Regions from separate parts of the Homo sapiens genome. Here region 1 is linked to region 2. Evidence: promoter capture Hi-C in 16 types of primary human blood cells and fetal thymus (Javierre and others, 2016). All regions are on one chromosome and are shown on one strand. The core of a region is centred on a gene start or on the middle of the fragment in contact, and the rest is flanking DNA. Distances in the headings are between cores, read along the strand shown. Region 1 overlaps LOC124902072 (a long non-coding RNA gene). Region 2 holds the start of KHDRBS3 (KH RNA binding domain containing, signal transduction associated 3).

Region 1 (2,700 bases), core at 15-2,514, 730 kb before region 2:
CTGACACCTTGATCTTGGACTTCTAGCCACCAGAATGGTGAGGACATAAATTCCTGTTGCTTAAGCCACCCAGTCTGTGGTATTCGTTACAGCAGTCACAGAAAAATAGTACACAGGCCTTGAGAAACAGACGTGAACACTGCTCCAATCCCTGGAGTAACAGGGATTCCTGTGAGCTGCCTGACTGCAGGCAGCACTGTCAGCATCCCCATCCCCCAGGATCGCCTGGGACCTCCCTCTTATCACATCGCTCCACCTCAGCTCCTTGGCAGCCAGGCCTCCAGCGGGAGGCAGAGGGCATCCTCAAGCTGGGCAATTGGAGGAGCATTTAATGAAGGGGCTCTTTACAAAGGTGTGGGCAGGGTTTTGGGAGGTCAGAGAGGAATGATGCAGCCCTTCTGCAACCTCGCCTCACCCCAGGCCTGCAGGCATGCGGAGGGAGTGCCCGCTGGAACCCAGGGCCAGGACAGGGCCTGTGCAGAGGAGTCCACCTTCAGCAAGACGGACCACCAATACTCTGCGACTTAGAGAAGGAGACTGAGGAATAAATGCCCAGACCGTACTCCGCTCCTGCCCTCCTGGTTTCCTGCCAGAGTCTCCCCTTGTCTGAAGCCAACCTGAAGACACCCCTTGAGGACCCCTTCACTGTACTGGGACCATGGGGGGCTGAGCCTCTGGGATCAGTCACCTCCCTAACCTCCTGCATGAGGAACAACTTGACGAACACACATTTCAACCTGTAACAGGGTGGACAAGCAGAACCCTTCTTCAGAAGCACATTTATGAAGTTCCCGCAGTAACTGGCTCAGAGAGAAATGCTGCTGTAACAGCTGAGAGAAAACTGATAACCCTGAAAATAAAGTGTCCATGGAAATCTCATATATTGCCTATTGTTTAAAAACAATGTCTCACATAAAAGAGGTGATGGATTAGTTTCTTTCATTATGCTGCCTCAAGCTATCTACGTGGACAAAAACCTACGCAGCTGCTTTTACACTTTAGAGCTAGACTTGATTCACTTCCATTCTTAGGAGTCAGGGGTGGCATTTGGTGGGCATCTCTTGATGCAGAATCTTATGCCAGTTTCTATAAGCAGGCTCAGGTGCCATCTGCATAGGAACTCCAGAGGGTGGACATGTAAAGAAACTTTGGGACTGTGCATTGGTCACCATCTTGGAGGGTGATGGCAGCTGCCCTGTAAATTATTGGGTAGGCATCTTGAGAGGCAGGGAGATGCAGTGAGCTCCAAGCCCAGTCAAGGCATAGCAGAAGGAAGGACAATGGAACACAGGTGACCCAGGGTGACATTTGTCAATAGATACAGCATGGACACTGGCTAATCAGAAAGAACGCATGCCCCTGATGTGCCAGGGGTTACTCCTTTAATTTTAGAAGCTGAGAAAGAAGGTCCTAGGAGTTTGGGGCCAGTGGGCTATACTGCCAAGAGTATGGGGACACAGGGCCAGGGCTTAAAGAGGTGCTATTTACTAAATCACTAAATAGGGAAAGATTTCGTTAGTATAATAACCACCATGGCCATAACTCATGTATATGGGTTGAACAGCAGCCCTGCTGGTAGGTGGCCAACTGGTCTCGGGTGGTCTGGGCCTTTCCTGGTTTCGTCACTTAAAGTCCCAGAACCTCTTTAGCCTGCCCTGGGTATCATTCTATCAGTTACGTTACCTGCCAGTCAAGTTACACAGTGCAGGCTAGAAGCTCTCAAAGGGGAGCTGTCTATAGCAAGGGGGAGAAACTCGCCTCCCTTCCCCTTACAGAGTCAAGATTACCATGGGCTGTGGGGGAATTCACCCCACACTCCCCAGTTAAAGCGCTTCTCCCTTTGCGAACTGAAGTCCAAGCAGTTCTCACCCATGGAAGTCCTTGGCAACCAAGCTCACCTCTCCACCTGTGCTCTCCACCGCAAGCTCAGTTGCAGTTGCACCTCTGCAGGTTCTTTAAAGCCCCTCCCTGGGGCCTTGCTTGAGAAAACAGCCCCCCATCTGCTCCTACCCCTGCTCCTCTTTGCAGATCTCCCTCCAGCTCTCTGGGCTGGAGGTAACCTCCACAGAGAAGGCTTCCCCAACCCTGCAGATTAAGGCTACCATCCTTCCTGCCCGTTTCCTGGGCACACTGTACCGCCCCATCCCACATATCGTTATGGCTCGTTTAACTACTTTCTCCCTCAGAACTGTAAGCTGCCTCAGGGCACAAGTTCAAGCGCCTGGCAAAGAGTGGTGTATTAGTCTGATCTCAGACGGCTTTCAAGAAATATCTGAGACTCGGCCATTTATAAAGAGGATGAATTGGCTCATGGTTCCACAGGCTGTTCAGGAAGCATAGCACTGGCATCTGCTCAGCTTCTGGGGAAGCCTCAGGAAACTTACAATCATGGCAGGAGATGAAGGGGGAATGGGCACATATTACATGGCCAGCGTAGGAGCAAGAGAGGGACGGGGAGAGGTGCTACACGCTTTTCTACAGCCAGATCTCATGAGAACTCTATCACAAGAACAGCAGCAAAGGTATGGTGCCAAACCATTCACAAAGGATCCACCGCCACGATCTAATCACCTCCCATCAGGTCCCACCCTCAACACTGGCGATTACAATTCAACGTGAGATTTGGATGGGGACACAGAGCCAAACTGTATCAAGTGGGCCTCCCATACATATTGAATGAACGAAGCAACTAGATAGGAG
Region 2 (2,700 bases), core at 164-2,663:
ATGAAGAAGACTCTTACTGGGGACTCTGAAATGACACCTTAGCCGGGGGAGGAGTGGAGCCTTGAGAGTGAGGGCAGTTGAGTACTCGGGTCTGGGACTTAGAGCTTCCAAGATTTCTACCACCTCCCACTCCCCTCGGGTTTGTAAAGCTGCCTCCATTTGCATTGGGAGTGCGGGGGGGCTGCCTGGGGGACTGTGGCGATTGTCCTCAGGCTATTGGCTGAGAGTGGTATGCCACTGACTTATTCCTCCAAGAGACATTTCCAGTACCCTCCATCCCTGCCCCCTGTACTACACACTGGTGACCTTCCCCCTCAAAAACAAAACTCAAACTCTGTCCCTGATGCTCATGGTCTACTGAAAACAGAATTACAGCTGTCTGTGAATGACCTCTGACCAAGCTGGGGGGACACAGAGAAGGGACTTGTGACTTGCTTTGCCAGGGAGGTCCTGAGAGGCTGTCCAGGGAAGGTGACATTGAGGCCGGGACTTGAGCTGGCTGTTTGAAGGCAGGAAAAATGGCAGGGCAAGGACTGGAGTCCTTCGCCTTCCTGGGGGACGTTTATTCCACATGCCTCGGGAAATCTGAAATGGCCTTGGAGAGCATTTGCTGGGGGTTGGGGGTGGGCGGAAGGGGACAGAGAGCATTGCCACCGACAGGCGGGGCGTCCCAGGGCCTCTCCCCAGGAGCGGATGAGCTCAGACGCGGCTCACTCAGCTGTGTCCAGGCACAGCCGGTTTATGACCTAAGAGAATGACAACCCAGGAGCAAGTCGGGATGACAAAGACGCCCAGAAGGGCACGCGCTTTTATGTAACCGACCTCTGAGCTGGCGGATCTCAGGAGGTTGGCGCTCTGAGCTCAGGCGCGGAGAAAGGACGGCGCCCCTGCCTTACTCTCTTATAAGTACGAGGGGACAGCAACGCGACATAACTTAGAGAAGTCCAGGAAGCTTTAGAGAGCAGGGCGGTCCCGCTGCTATTCCTCAGAGCGCGACTGGGGCGAACTGGGGCGCCCTTCCCAGCTCCAGCTCGGCCCTTGTCCCCTCTTCCCAGGATCACTCGCTGGGTGACCTTGGGCGAGCCACTTGACTTCTCTGAGCCCCAGTTTCCCAGTCCGTGCATCTGAAAGGCTGTAATAGCGTCGTGGGGCTCCCCACTCGGCCCTCAGGGCCAAAGGTGGGCGCCGGACACGCGGGAGGGGCCCTTGGACGCACCCCCTCTCGCAAACGCCCGGTTAGTCCCGGCGGACTCGCAGTGGAGAGCGGCCCCAGGAGGCGGCGGGCGGCGGGGCGGTGGGCGCCAGTGCGCAGGCGCGGCGCGGCAGGGCGGGGCGGCGGGCGCGGGGCGGGGCGGGGCGGAGCCGGGCGGGGCGGGGCCGGCGGCAGGCGCTGGGCGCTCGGCGCGGTGGCTCAGAGTGCGCGGGGCGGCGCGCGGCGTGCAGGTCGCAGCTGTGGCTCGGGTGCTGGCAGGTGCTGGCGGGACTGGCGGGGATCGCCGTGGACTGCCTCAGGGGCGCCGCAGCCCGCTCGGCCCGAGGGCCCGCCTAACCGCGCCGCCCGCGCCCGCTCCTCCTCGGCCCGCGCCCGGAGCGCGGGGGCCGCCGGCGCTGGGTACTCGGCGGCCACCGGGGATCGGGGCTGAGCGGTCGGTTCCCGCCCCCGTGCCGCCGCCGCCGCCTTCCGGCCGACCGCCCGGCTTGGCCGCTGCTGCCGCGTCTGGCCCCCGGGTCCCCGCCGCTGGGGGCGCGGGCGGGGTCGGGGGTTGCCGGGCGCCGCCCCCCGTGCGCCTGGAGTCCACATCCCGGGCCCGGCGGCCGGCGAGCATGGAGGAGAAGTACCTGCCCGAGCTGATGGCGGAGAAGGACTCCCTGGACCCCTCCTTCACGCACGCCCTGCGCCTGGTGAACCAAGGTGAGGCGCCGGCCGTTAACTGCCGGCCGGCGGCGGTTGGGGGCCGGGTGGAAACGCGGGGGCCCAGGGGGCCCCTCCGTGCCCTCTGCTGTCAGCGGACGCGGCGGAGACGGAGGCCCGGGTGGCCCCCGGGGTCGTTTGCACGGGGACCTGGGAGGCTGTGGGACACCTAGGGGAAGACCCTGATGTGAATTTTGGGGACTTGGAAGGAGAAGGCTGGGGCGCATGGGTGAGACTTGAAGGAAATCTTTGGGGACTCGGGCACACCCAGGGGAAACTTCTGGGTGGGGGACAGCGACCATCTGGGGGCTTCGTTGGGAACGAGGTTGAATTATGTCATGGAAGGGGAGCGTGTTGGACTCGGGGAAGTAGGGCGTTTGGTTTGTCTAAGGTACTGGAGAAAAAGCTGGAGGAAAATGGAAGGACTTGAGGGACTCAAATGCAGAAGAGGTGAAGGGAACAGGTGCTTGCATTGTTAGCGAAGTTTGGGGACCTTGGAAGAGGGTTGGGGTCAGACCCCAGCACCTGAGAGGAGAGGAGCTCCGTGGTCCCAGGGGAGGAGCCCAGTTCCCCCTCCCAGCCCTTTGTCTCTCCTGTGTCCAGGCTCCAACAGCCCTGGCGGGGCAGTCAGCCCTCCCAGGGGATGGGCAGCCCATGCCAAGCCTTGCAGGCTGGCCCTTGGAGAAGTCAGTAGGGGAGAAGAGGCCGGCAAAAGAGCACCGTTCCGGAGGGCGTTGGGTTGGGTGACCCTCATTGGTGGCTGGCTTGAGGTTCGGAATAGTGGTGAA

What was found. The method cuts DNA at HindIII sites, captures the fragments that hold promoters and counts their contacts. A CHiCAGO score of 5 or more calls a contact.
Region 1: a fragment that was not itself captured here is called in contact with the fragment with the promoter of KHDRBS3 in region 2 in 1 of 17 cell types (monocytes); the score reaches 6.0 in monocytes.

The regions. Positions count from the first base shown.
Region 1 is chr8:134,723,032-134,725,731 of GRCh38, forward strand. LOC124902072 (a long non-coding RNA gene) reads left to right here. Exons shown (of 2, transcript XR_007061187.1): 2 at 421-879. It also overlaps a transcript of ZFAT not described here. Among named protein-coding and RNA genes, the nearest start is that of ZFAT, 11 kb to the left of the region's middle. The HindIII fragment of the contact is 7,755 bases long and covers 1-2,700 here.
Region 2 is chr8:135,456,043-135,458,742 of GRCh38, forward strand. KHDRBS3 (KH RNA binding domain containing, signal transduction associated 3) reads left to right here and starts at 1,414. Exons shown (of 9, transcript NM_006558.3): 1 at 1,414-1,912. The coding sequence starts at 1,825. It overlaps LOC101927872 (a long non-coding RNA gene), which reads right to left and starts at 1,933. Exons shown (of 4, transcript XR_002956731.2): 1 at 1,840-1,933. RefSeq lists a silencer at 1,286-1,585. The HindIII fragment of the contact is 3,136 bases long and covers 951-2,700 here.